Linked DNA regions of Homo sapiens: regions 1, 3 and 4 are each linked to region 2. Evidence: promoter capture Hi-C in 16 types of primary human blood cells and fetal thymus (Javierre and others, 2016). All regions are on one chromosome and are shown on one strand. Each heading gives the region's core, a stretch centred on a gene start or on the middle of the fragment in contact. The rest is flanking DNA. Distances are from core to core; before and after follow the strand shown. Region 1 overlaps NBDY (negative regulator of P-body association). Region 2 holds the start of SPIN3 (spindlin family member 3). Region 3 overlaps NBDY (negative regulator of P-body association). Region 4 overlaps NBDY (negative regulator of P-body association).

Evidence for each region. The method cuts DNA at HindIII sites, captures the fragments that hold promoters and counts their contacts. A CHiCAGO score of 5 or more calls a contact.
Region 1: a contact is called between a fragment that was not itself captured here and the fragment with the promoter of SPIN3 in region 2, in 3 of 17 cell types (total CD4 T cells, naive CD4 T cells and non-activated CD4 T cells). The highest score is 6.0, in total CD4 T cells.
Region 3: a contact is called between a fragment that was not itself captured here and the fragment with the promoter of SPIN3 in region 2, in 12 of 17 cell types (non-activated CD4 T cells, naive CD4 T cells, activated CD4 T cells and 9 more). The highest score is 12.0, in non-activated CD4 T cells.
Region 4: a contact is called between a fragment that was not itself captured here and the fragment with the promoter of SPIN3 in region 2, in 1 of 17 cell types (total CD4 T cells). The highest score is 5.1, in total CD4 T cells.

The regions. Positions count from the first base shown.
Region 1 is chrX:56,782,765-56,785,764 of GRCh38, forward strand. The region is part of intron 2 of NBDY (negative regulator of P-body association); the gene reads left to right. Among named protein-coding and RNA genes, the nearest start is that of NBDY, 55 kb to the left of the region's middle. RefSeq lists an enhancer at 605-684. The HindIII fragment of the contact is 3,817 bases long and covers 1-3,000 here.
Region 2 is chrX:56,993,975-56,996,959 of GRCh38, forward strand. It overlaps SPIN3 (spindlin family member 3), which reads right to left and starts at 1,567. Exons shown (of 2, transcript NM_001010862.3): 1 at 1,242-1,567; 2 at 1-975. The coding sequence starts at 973. The coding sequence ends at 197. RefSeq lists an enhancer at 1,499-1,598. The HindIII fragment of the contact is 2,350 bases long and covers 1-2,190 here.
Region 3 is chrX:56,800,809-56,803,827 of GRCh38, forward strand. The region is part of intron 2 of NBDY (negative regulator of P-body association); the gene reads left to right. Among named protein-coding and RNA genes, the nearest start is that of NBDY, 73 kb to the left of the region's middle. RefSeq lists enhancers at 66-135, 2,635-2,774. The HindIII fragment of the contact is 1,866 bases long and covers 335-2,200 here.
Region 4 is chrX:56,818,100-56,821,314 of GRCh38, forward strand. It overlaps NBDY (negative regulator of P-body association), which reads left to right. Exons shown (of 3, transcript NM_001348129.2): 3 at 1-1,080. Among named protein-coding and RNA genes, the nearest start is that of NBDY, 90 kb to the left of the region's middle. RefSeq lists a silencer at 2,057-2,351. The HindIII fragment of the contact is 3,504 bases long and covers 171-3,215 here.

The DNA.
Region 1 (3,000 bases), core at 389-2,888, 210 kb before region 2:
TTTGCAGGGTGTCTCCGCCACATGCCCATTTGCCCACTCTCACTCACAGAGGCAGGCACCCACAGACCACAGACACAGACACAATACATACACTCACAAGGGACCCCCCAATCAGAAATTAAATCACAAACACACACGCACATGGAGACTCATGCACACACAGACACAAACACACACATTAAACACGCCTAAGCGGACACACACACAGATACACACAGACACACACACACACACAGAAGTAAGCTCACACTAGTACAAATGTGCGGGTTTAAGCATTATCGTACACAGACACACACAACACCTCAGGCACGAAACTGCCCACAATGTCTTCCACTCGGGCTGTAAATGGGGCTGTAAATGGTGGCGTGTGGCCCTCAAACTGAGGCGGGACAAGAGAGGAACTCCTTGCTGGCTCTTGGCCTGCCCTCATTCCTAGGATGGCGGCCTGTCTCCACAGCTGTATGTAAGAAAGGGCAGTCGGGGCGGCCAGCCATGGCTTCCCCTGGCAGTCTCCAGAAACTGCCGGGCATGAGTCGCCCAACACTCAACACGCCGAAGCTCCTTTGTTTCCTGGGTGGATAGGGGCTTTCTTGCCCCACTGTGGCCCCAGCCAAGGGCATCCCAGAACTGCCCACAAAAGAGACCAGATTAAACGGCCCCATTTTCTGGCTGTCAGTGGCCAGTGGCTTCCCTTATGCGTATCTCAAAATGGCTGCTGGTGCAGCTCCACTCTGTGGGCTGACGGGTCTTCAGGCTGCCTGGCTGATCTGTCTCGGGGCCTCTAGAGTAGCTGCTTCTCCAAGCGGTTCCAATGGCAGGTACGATTTGTTCTAGGGCTCTAAACCCCAGTCGGGGAAACCCTGGCTTAGGCAGAGTCCACCCAGTCCCGCACATTTTCGCGGATCTCTGTGCCTGGCAGAAGGCAAGTGTCCCTGCAGCCTGTTGTCATGTTCAGAAACACCTTCCGCTGGATGGCACTGTGGCTCCACAGATGACAGTCACGTCTTTTCCTTCCCTTCCCTTGCCTTTGTCTTTCTCCATTTGTTGCGAACAGAATAAAACAAAAACACACACACAAAGCGAAGAAACAAAGAAAGAAACGGGCCAAAGAGCACCCACCTCATCTACAGCAGGGCTCCCCACCTACGTGGTCACTTTGGGGGAAGGTGCAACAGTAGGAGCGTTCTCTGCCTCCCTCCTTCTTCTGGATTCTTCTCTGGGCAGGGGTCCCAGTGAACCAGAGGAGCCTATCCTCAATACATCCCACCCTTATGGCTGTGGCATGGTGGGGGTAGGTCGCACTGGGGGCAGTGTGAGTGGGTACAGGGGGAGAGGTGTGTGGATGTGTGGCCCTGCATGCAGGCTGCTGCAGATTTCTCTAGGAATGTGCTCAGCTCCCCCTAGGCAAGAGACCAGGCCGTATGCTGAGGTGCACGACACTTGTCCCTAGGTAGCACTCTTCCTCTTGGGGAAGGGACCAAATCTTGTATGGAATGCAGTCCGGTCCAACAGGCTTCCGCACATTGTTGACCCATGGAGCAGCAAGGAGTTTGGCTGGATGTTTGTTGGGATGGGACTGGACTGGAAGGACTCCTGTTGGAGGCCTTCAGCTCCCTCTCTCTCTCTGGAGCCCAGGCACTCATCTGTGCCCAGGGGTGGGAGGGGTATTCCAGGTTGTTTTACAGGTGGCTGTCCTGGAGAGAAAGCCACTTGTTATGTCTGACTGAGCATGCGTGCTCACTGGAACGTGGTGGTTCACCAGTTATTTGCCCCGGCATCTTGGTCATTCTGCATAAGTGCATGGGTAGCCAGGTTCCAGACAGTGCTCGCCTTCTCCTGGGCCTGTCTTTGTTCCTGTTCTGCGTGTGGAAGTAGAGGTGGATCCTGGAATGTGTTGGGTGGGATGGTGGTAGGGCAACTGTGCCTTGGTTTGATACAGAGCTCTCTGGGGTCCTCAAGCTGAACTCTGGTGCTTGCGGGATATTCAGCCCTAAAAATGAATGAGTCGGTCGAGGACAAATTTTGCCGGCTCTTTAGGGTTTCCAGGCAGACGTAAGAAATCCTGACGCGGGCCATCATACAGCCCGCTTCTTGGGATGCGAAGCCATGACCGCGTTGCTCTAAAGGTTACATATGCTACCCATGCCGCTCAGTGCCTGGGCAGCAGCATGGAACACACAGCTCTTCAAATATTGCAAATGTTTTCTGTCTTTGCTTGTTACAAATCTTCCTGGATGTGTAGGCCGCACTGGGAATGAGCAGAGTTTCATAGGACAGAAAATTCATGCCACGGGTAATGATTCTCACACTCATGAGAGTGTGAACCACTCTCACAAGAGGAACATCAATCTCGGGTGTGGGCCTGCACTCCCAGGGCATTCCAGGAAGAAGACTCACATGACCATGGAACAGGAGTCACCCCCTTTCTGTCACTTGTCAACAAATGCGGATTCTTTTTTCACATGTAGGTAGCATGCACCAGGGGGTGCTTCTGCCCCTTCCTAGGGACAAAGGGAGAAGAAAAGAATGCAGGAAGATTTGGACTGTGTCTTTGGGGTGGCATTGCGACTCTGAGTGTCAGAGGACCTCGTTTTTAACTTTTAACTCCCATCACGCTTCAACTTTTTCCCATCTTCATCTGTGCTTCCATAGTTCCTCAGACAAATACACGTATCCCCACGCACACTCACAAGTGTCTGGCCAGACACCTTCATTCACCTCCGGGTACAGTCGTCTAGGCAATTCTCAGGGGGCAGTTTTTCAGCTTTCCCTTTCCTTCTTGTTTACCTTTCTTGTTGTTTCCTGTCTGGCTTCCCAATATTTGCTGATGGTGTGTGCGGGATGGGGTTGGGGTTGGGGCAGTAGAGAGCAGGGCAGCCTCCTGAACCAACAGGCCTCTATGCAGTCGCGGTGCAGACTCGGGCTTAAGGGGCTGACACTTTCTTCTTGCTGGTGGCTCTTTTTCTGTGAGGACACAAGAAGTCACTCACAGGGCTGCCA
Region 2 (2,985 bases), core at 317-2,816:
GGAACCAGTGAAAAGGTTGGACAGATGGGCAAAAGGTTTCTTCCAAAAACGTATGAGAGGGCAGAAGTTCCAATTTTTTTGCCAAGCAAAACGTGCAAAAAGGGAGAAGATGGTTCTTACAAACTGGAAAGCAATCAAGACTTTCTGTGTCTACAGATTTAGAGTCTCATATATTTGGCAAATTTCAAGATGACCTCTAAGATGTTTTTACCAAATCGTAGACATAGATATGGAAATCATCATCAAATTTGATGAAGTACACAGAGGGTTTTGCTTCTACCTGATGAATGACCATGCCAGTTCTCTTGGAGCCATCGTCTTTGGCGTATTCCACCTGTTTGCCTACCAGGCTGTCTATGACTTCTCCTGGCTCCCTCTCTGCCAGAGGAGAATCATTGGAATCTTGAAGGATGCGGAGGTCACCATCTTTATAATCATCTAAGAGCTGGTACATATATAATACAGGATCTTTCTCATAGGTAATGTAAAACCATGTGTTCATGACAGGTGCCTGAGCTAAGACCATCCCCCTCCATTCATTTTTGGAACCTTCCTCTGTCTCAAAAATATGTTCCACTGCTTTGCCAACCATTATTTCTGCCAAGTGTGTATCACTGATTCTAGATGATGCAACTCTATTAGGAAGGACTTCAAGTGATGACACTCTTTCATCTCTGTGAAGTTCCAATCCATAAACACAGTCAAATCCATCATATTTGATAAGATACAGAGAGGGATTTACAGGTACCTGATCCAGAACGGTTCCTTTCCACTGTGTTAGAGGTTCATCTCCATCTTTCCATCCGTGCTGAATTCTGCAGCCCACGATGTTCCCCCGAGGCTGGGAGGTGGGTCGGCTCCTATGCTTCTTGTGTGCAGCCTTCCTCTTTATCATGGTAACAGACACACTGCCGTGGCCAGCGCCCGTCCTGGACCGCTGCCCTGCAGCTGCCTTTCCAAACGGGGTCTTCATGCCTGCGAAGAGGAGCACAGTTGCCAGGTGGACCGAGAAAGGAAATTAACAAAATCAATGCATAACACGGAGAGCTTTTTCTCCTAATCAGCGCACCCAGTAAACCCACACCTGTTTTTCCCGAAAGCTAGATAGCAAAGCTGGAAATCAAGGCACCCTGGCTGAGTGCCTGCAGTAACCTTCCTCCCCAGCTCAGTCTGGCTAAGATCTGCGGTTCGGTGAAATACGAAGCGTTTCCCCATTCCCCTCGCCCTGCTTCCAACACTACCCGGCCAGGAGGCGCAGATTCCCCACCGTCCCGGATTGCGGGCCTCAAGTGCACAAATCGGACACCTCGCCGTTGCCTCCGCAGTGAGCCTATGGAGGAGGAAAATCAGCGGGCGAGCAGCCCGGTGCTTGCAAAAGCTGGGAGAGGATGATCCATAGGCAATGAGTGTCTCTAAGAGGGCGGCGGGGCAGGCGAAGATGACCGTGGCGGCGTCCCTTGCTCTTGGCTCCTGCGTCCTCCGCCTTCCTGGTGGCGGCGGCGGTGGCGGTGGCCGCAGCCCCTCTCCCACATCGGACTCCCACTAGTCGCTGCTGCGCCGCAGTCTCCTCCTTCTTTTTCTAGCGCAGCTTCCGGTCAGTAGAGAGGCCTCCCCTTCCTGCCAAACACCGCGTGGCGCCCCTCCCCCACCAACCTGTACCACAGCCCTGGGCGTGGAAGGTGCTCCTAGGCTCTCGGTCTCGCAGCTTCCTCCAAATCAGAAGCTGTGGAGCCCACAACCACCTCTCTCTCACTGCATTGGTTTACCTCTTCTGGTTTAGCACGCGCCCCTCCCCTCACCTAACCTCAACCCTCTGCGCCCCTGCCCCTTCTGCTTTCCACCTTTCAGGAATTAGCCCTTTCCTTTCCCCTCCCTCCCCGCGTCCCCCCACCCTCCATTGAAGGGGATTTGTGGTAGGACAAGAGAAATGCGCTACTGCTCAGTGTTCAGGCTGCCATCTTGACCCAATCTACGTAATTTTTACTGACTTGTCATTCCCAGACTTAACTTCTTGAGGATTTCTTTTCTTTTCCCCTGATTGCAAAAGAATTGCATGCACAATATTGACACTGTAAAATTCAGAAAATTGACATGAAGAGAAAATAATTAACTAAGCCGGCCTCCCATTTTCCAGGGCTCACAGTGAAATATTAACACTATTTCCTTTTCCTTTTTTCTAAGCTCTTACAAAGCTTGGATAATTTTGAATATGCACTTTCATGTCCTGCTCATTTCCATGTAGAATAAACATTTGCTCAATTTTTTAGATATTTTCTGAGAACATGTTTTGTAGTAGCTTCATAAAATTAAGCATTAGGATTTTTCATAATTTTGCCGTTGCCTCCTATCTTCAGACGTTTAATTGTTAAATACCTATAAATTGTGCTTGCGCATGAATTATTCTGTTCACTTGAACAGAATAACCTAGACACTAAACTTAGAACAATTGCTATAATTAAAACAGGAATTTGTGAGATCATAAATCTGTGGAGAAAGACATTTTAGAAGTGATTCAATCAGTTTTATCGTTACAGCCATCCTAGTGGGTATGAAGTGGTACCTAATTGTGGTTTTAATTTGCATTTCTCTAATGACTAATGAGGATGAGCATCTTTTTGTGTGCTTGTTGGACATTTGTGTATCTTTGGAGAAATGTCTATTTCAAGTGCTTTGTTCATTTTTTAAATGAATTGTTTGTAGCAGGGCTGTTAATTGTTCTTTTTAAATTCTGGATGAGAGAACCTTATCAGATATATGATATGAAAATATTTTATCCCGTTTTGTGGGGTGTCTTCACTTTCTTGATAGTATTTTTGATGCACAAAAGCTTAAAACTTGGTTGTGCGTTTGGAGTCACACCTAAATAAACACTGCCAAATCCAAGTTCATGAAAATGTACCCCTATATTTTCTTGTAAAATTTTGTTTGTTTTTAGCTCTTATATTTATGTCTTTGACCCATTTTGAGTTAATTATTATGTATGGT
Region 3 (3,019 bases), core at 18-2,517, 190 kb before region 2:
TTTCCTAAGGAAATCAGAAGGACCCGGGCTGAACCCTGGGGGTGTAAGCAGCATCCCCCTCCCCTATCTGCCTTCTGTCAGTGTTGCCATAGGTGGCTCATTACCTCCTTTCTCTGGTATCCATTTCCTCCCCGTTTTACATCTCTCCTCCCACCCATTTCCGGGGTACTTCCCTACCCAGGCCTTGTAGATTAGAAGCCCGTGGCCCCTTGCAGTGCGCTGATGACATCTGGAGGGCATGGCTCAGCCTGCACCTCTGTCCTCTGTAGCTTCTCTAGGCCTACTTGTAGATCAAAGCCCTTGATACCACTCGGAAAAGAACCCATCAACAAGAAGCTTCTTGGTGTTGTGTCCTTTCACCGGGACATCACAGGTTTCTCTTTGCCTCTTGTTGTGTATGCCACCATGCAGTGAGGCACCCCTGAACTAGGTCCTTCAGGACAGCTGCTGTGGCGTGAAGCTGCCACTTCTTGTTCTTATTGTCTTTCTGGTTCTTCTTCCTCTTCCTCCTCCTCCTCTTTTTTCTTTTTCTTTTTCTTCTACTCCTTCTCCTTCTCCTTCTCATTTTTCTCTTCTTTCTTCTCTTTTTCCTTTCACTTTTGGCTCTTGGCGGGTCAAGCATTATACTGAGACTGCTTCTTCCTCTGCTCCTGGTGATGCAGGATGCCCCTTTGCAGAACAAAAGTGAGAAAGGCCTCATTTGTTCTTAAAGGAGCAGATATGAAGGTCACCAGTTCAGTCCCTCTGGTGTTCCACAAAGGCGCCAATGTGTTACTTTTCATGAAATGTCACCATGAACCCACCCCTTAACCTGTTCCTCATGGCTCACCATTCTTTCCCATTCTCTTTGTGGATGCTCTAAATGTGTAATCCTGAGCCAGCAGGAGCCTTGGCAAGTTGTCCCCCTTTGTCTTTTCTTTCAATCCAGCCATGTGAACACAACGATCCAGATTTCAGTGTGTATAGGCAGGCTGTCTCTCCCACGTGCCCATTTGCCCACTCTCACTCACACAGGCAGGCACCCAGAGACCACAGACACAGACACAACCACATGGACTCACAGGGAAACCCCGACAACCACAAATATAATCACAAACACACATGCACAGGGAGATACACACACAGACACAAAGACATACACTAACACATGCACACTCACAAACTCATAGACACACACACACACACACACACACACACACACACACACAAATCCTCACACAGGCCCAGGGGTGCGGGCTCAAGCATTCACCCACACAGACGCACACACACATGTGTCGCCATAGCCACCAGACTGCCCACGAACTCTCCCATAAAGGCTCTCAGTCGGCCACAGGCAATGGGCTATGGGTGAGGATTCCTGGCTCCAGGCCTGGGTCATTATGCTGTTGATTGGGCACCTAAGGCCTTCTCCTGAGAATGAATGCGGGAAGTCTGTTATCAGATAAGCCCCAGCAGCCAGTGTGAAACTGGAGCCTCCTGGGTCAACCTGCTTAAAAAGGGACCACACCTTGGGTAGAGGCAGACAGTCCCCTTGGGACCCTTGGCCCTCTGTGATGCCATGGGAATCTGTGTTGCGTGGTGGCCTTCCCCAGTTCCCCTAAGCCACCCTCATGTCACCCCTCCCCCCCACCCCATGTGAAAGCCAGGACAGCCTGCACAGAGTCAGACTTCAGTCAGTTGCTGAGTATCCCCTCTGAGGGAGATTCCTGCCACACGCCCTGTGACTGCCTGTTGAGCTGTTCGCTCATTTTGGTGACCTCCATGTGCCAGCCCAAGGTGGTAAACTCTATCTGGAGCTCCAGGCTTTGGGAGAACCACCAGTCCTGCAGCAAAACCTTGGGTAATTCAGCTGGGTGACCAGCACCTTGTCCTGGGGCGGCAGCCCCATGATCCCAGTCTTCCTGTGGTTTCCCAGTGGCCATGATTATGTATCATTTGTCTTCTATTTTTCTGCATGAGCATGAGCCATGAAACCTGGAGAGGGCCAAAGGAAAAGCAAAGGCTGGCGGCATAAAGAGGATTTCCGCAGTGTCTCCTGCCTACTGGTCCTAGGTCGTAGGGTCCCTTAAGTTTGGTGGTCAACCTGAGACCAGGTGGCTGGCTCCTTTTTATCCTCCCTGTCTTTTTTTTGTTTCTCTTTCCCTTTTCTTTTTTTCACATTGGAAAGGGTGGAGGCCGTCGGATTGGAGGGGCAGGGTTAAGCTTGTAGTTGGCCTTTGTAGAGCCATAGTGCCATCGAGCGGAATCTGTTTCTGGAAACTGGAGGCAGCTGGGCATGAGTGCTGGAGAAATCCCAGGAGCACGAAAGAGATGGTGGCGGTGTGGGGCCCCCAGGCTGAAGCTGGACGAGAGAGGAACTCCTGGCTGGCCCTTTGCCCTTGCTCATTACCAGGATGGCACCCGGGCTCCACAGCCCTCTCCGAAAAAAGGGCAGGAAGGGGCGGCCCTCCATGGGTTCCCCTGGCCATCTCCAGGAATTGCCGGGCAGGAGTCGTCCCGCCCACAGCACCCCACAGCTCCTTGGTTCACTGGGAGGATAGGGGACCTCTGGCCCCAGCGTGATTCCAGGCAAGGGCACCCCAGAACTCCCCACAAAAGAGACCAGTGTAAACGACCCCAGTCTCGGCCGTCAGTAGTCAGTGGCTTCCCTTAAGCCCACCTCAAGATGGCTGCCAGGGCACCTCCGCACTCTGGACTGACTGGTCTTGGGGCTGCCTGGCTGCTCTGTCCCTGGGCCTCTAGATTAGCTGCTTCTCCGTGGGGTCCAAATGGCAGGCACACTTCCTTCAAAGGTTTAAAACCGCGATGGGGGAAACTCTGGCTTAGTCAGAGTCCACCCAGCCCGACATATTCTCGCTGAAGTCTGTGCCTGTCAGAAGGCAAGTATCCCTGCAGCCGGTCGTGTTCAGAAACAACTGCCGCTGGATGGCAGTGTGGCTCCAGAAATGGCAGTCACTTATTTCCCTTGCTTTTCTCTTTCTCCTTTTGCTTCCAACAAAACAAAACAAAACAAAAAGAA
Region 4 (3,215 bases), core at 673-3,172, 180 kb before region 2:
GACTATAATAATTTCCAGGGATATAAAAAAATAAAGCTTCTACCTTTGAATTGTAATAATAAAAGATAAACAGACTTGAAAGCATATATTATATCTGAAAATGTCAGATAAACTTGGCTTATAAATTAAAATATAAAATAATAATACAATTTGTTCAAATAAGTAATTAAAGCTTACATTGTAAAATGAATATTTAGAGAGATTGTGAAACCTGAGTATTTTACCCAATCCTCTGAAATTAGTCCCTAGCATCAGAATTAAAGAATCTGAAAAATCACAAATGGAGGTATGGTGACATTTATGTATATTCTAGAGTTATGTTATGCACACTTAATAAATTATAGACAGTTATTTTAAAGATTGTATAATATTACTAATCACACATTAGAGTTTTAAAACTTCTGAGCCAGGCTGAACATCACAAACAGTAAACACAGACTTCTTTAAAAGGACATCTGGTGAAAGGCATTTTATGCATCAGAAGGCACAGTATTATAAAGATGACAACACTCTTCAAAATAATCAAACTATTCAATGCAACCCTTATCAAAATTAAGGTTGCCTACTTTGAAGAAATTTATAACCTGATTCTAAAGTTCATATGAAAATGTAATGGACCCAGAATAGCCAAAACAATCTTGAAGTATACAAAGTTTGAAGAGTCACATTTCCAAATTTTAAAACTTATTACAAAGCTACAATAAACAAGTCTATGTGGTACTGGCATAGGATATAAATATTGATCAATGAAATAGAATCCAAAGTCCAGACATAAGCCCTCACAAAAGTTAATTTGCAGCCAATTAACTTCTGAGAAGGAGGCAAGACAAAAGGGGAAATAACTATTTTCAATAAATGGTACTGGGACAACTTGGTATCTACATGCAAAAAAAAAACAAAAAAACAAAAAACTTCCACCCCTACCTCATGCAAAATACAAAAATTAACTCAAAATAGGCCAAAGACTCAAATATAAGGGTTACACTATAAAACTCTTGGGAGGAAATATAGAATAAATTTTTGTGACCTTGAATTAAGTATTAGATTTTTAATTCTTACACCAAAGCACAAGTTAATAAAGGAAAAAAAAGATAAACTGGACATAATTAAAATTGAAAAAAAATTTGCTTCAGTGAACACAGTCAAGAAATTTGAAAGACAGCCACAGTGCAAGATTATTTTTGCAAATAATATGTCTCATAAATGACTTGTATCTAAAATATATAAGACCAGGCATGGTGGCTCATCCTGTAATCCCAGCACTTTGGGAGGCTGAGGCAGGGGGATCACTTGAGGTCAGGAGTTTGACACCAGCCTGGCCAACATGATGAAACCCCATCTTTACTAAAAATACACACACAAAAAAAATTAGCAGGGTGTGGTGGTGTATGCCTGTAATCTTAGCTACTCAGGAGGCTGAGGTGGGAGGATAGCTTGAACCTGGGAGGCAGAGGTTGCAGTGAGCCAAAATTGCACCAATGCACACTCCAGCCTAAGCAACAGGGCAAGACGCCATCTCAAAAAATAAAACAAAATAATAAAATAAAATAAACAGTAATTACCGCTAAATAATAAAACAAACAATAAACCAATTTTATAACGAAAGGATCTGAATAGATTCTTCTGTAAAGAAGACATACAAATCACAAATTACACATGAGAAGATGCTCAACACTATTAGTCATCAGGGAAATGCAAATCAAAATCACAAAGAGACAGCAATTTATACCCAGTAGGATACTTATTATTATTATTATTTTAAATAGCAAAATAATAAATGTTAGAATGTGGGAAAACAGGAACATGCGGCATTGTTGCTGGTAATGATAAATGTGCAGCCACTGGGCAAACAATTTTGTGGTTCCTCTCTAAGTTAAAAATAATGGCTGGGCGTGGTGGCTCACACCTGTAATCCCAGCACTTTGGGAGGCTGAGGTGGATGGATCACCTGAGGTCAGGAATTCGAGACTAGCCTGACCAACATGGTGAAACCCCATCTCTACTAAAAAATATAAAAAATTAGCCCAGCTACTCAGGAGGCTGACGCAGGAGAATCCCTTGAACCTGGGAGGCAGAGGTTGCAGTGAGCCGAGATCCCACCACTGCACTCCAGCCTGGGCATGACAGAGCAAGACTCCATCTCAAAAAAAAGAAAAAAAAAAGAAATAACATGCTACCCAGCAATTTTACTCCTGATACATAGCCAAAATAACTAAAAAACAGGTGTTCAAACAAAAATTGTACAGGACGGTTTACAGCAGAAATATTTGTACTAGGAAAATGTGGAAACAACTCAAATGCCCATCAACTGGTGAATGGAAAACAAAATGTATATTCACACAATGGAATATTAATTTAGTCATATACAGGAAATAAGTATACATACTGCCAGAATAAACCTTGAAAGCATTATGCCAAAAAAAAAAAAAAGGAAAATAATTCTTGCCTGGTGGTCTGGGAAAAGCAAAAGCATTATGCTATGTGAAAAAAGCCAGTCACACAGTACCATATATTATATAATTTCATATAAATAAAATGTCCACATGAGGCAAGTCTATAGGTTCAGAAAAAATATTTGCTTAAGGATGGAGTTTCCCTTAAGTTATGATTGAGAATTGATGTCTAAGGACTGTGTGATTTTATTCAGGGTTAATGAAAATGCATAAGAATTGACTGTAGTGATATTTACACATATCTATGCTTATCTATAAATATCCAAAACCATTGAATTGTACACTTTAAATCACGGATTGTATTATATGTGCATATCTCAAGTTGTTTAAAACAATAGATGTCTGGCTAGCACCTCCCAAGGCAGCCTCTCCCAACTTTTATTTTATTTTTTTGAGACGGAGTTTCACTCTTGTTGCCCAGGCTGGAGTGCAATAGTGCAATCTTGGCTCACTGTAACCTCCACCTCCCAGGTTCAAGGAATTCTCCTGCCTCAGCCTCCCGAGTAGCTGGGATTACAGGCATGCACCACCACACCCAGCTAATTTTGTATTTTTGGTAGAGACAGGGTTTCTCCATGTTGAGGCTGGTCTCGAACTCCTGACCTCAGGTGATCCGCCCGCCCCTTGGCCTCCGAAAGTGCCGGGATTACAGGCGTGAACCACCATGCCTGGCCAGCCTCTCCCAACTTATTAAATTCCTATGCAGCAAGATGGCAAAATGGAATTCTTCAGCACTCATAACCTTGCAGAAGTATCCATTTG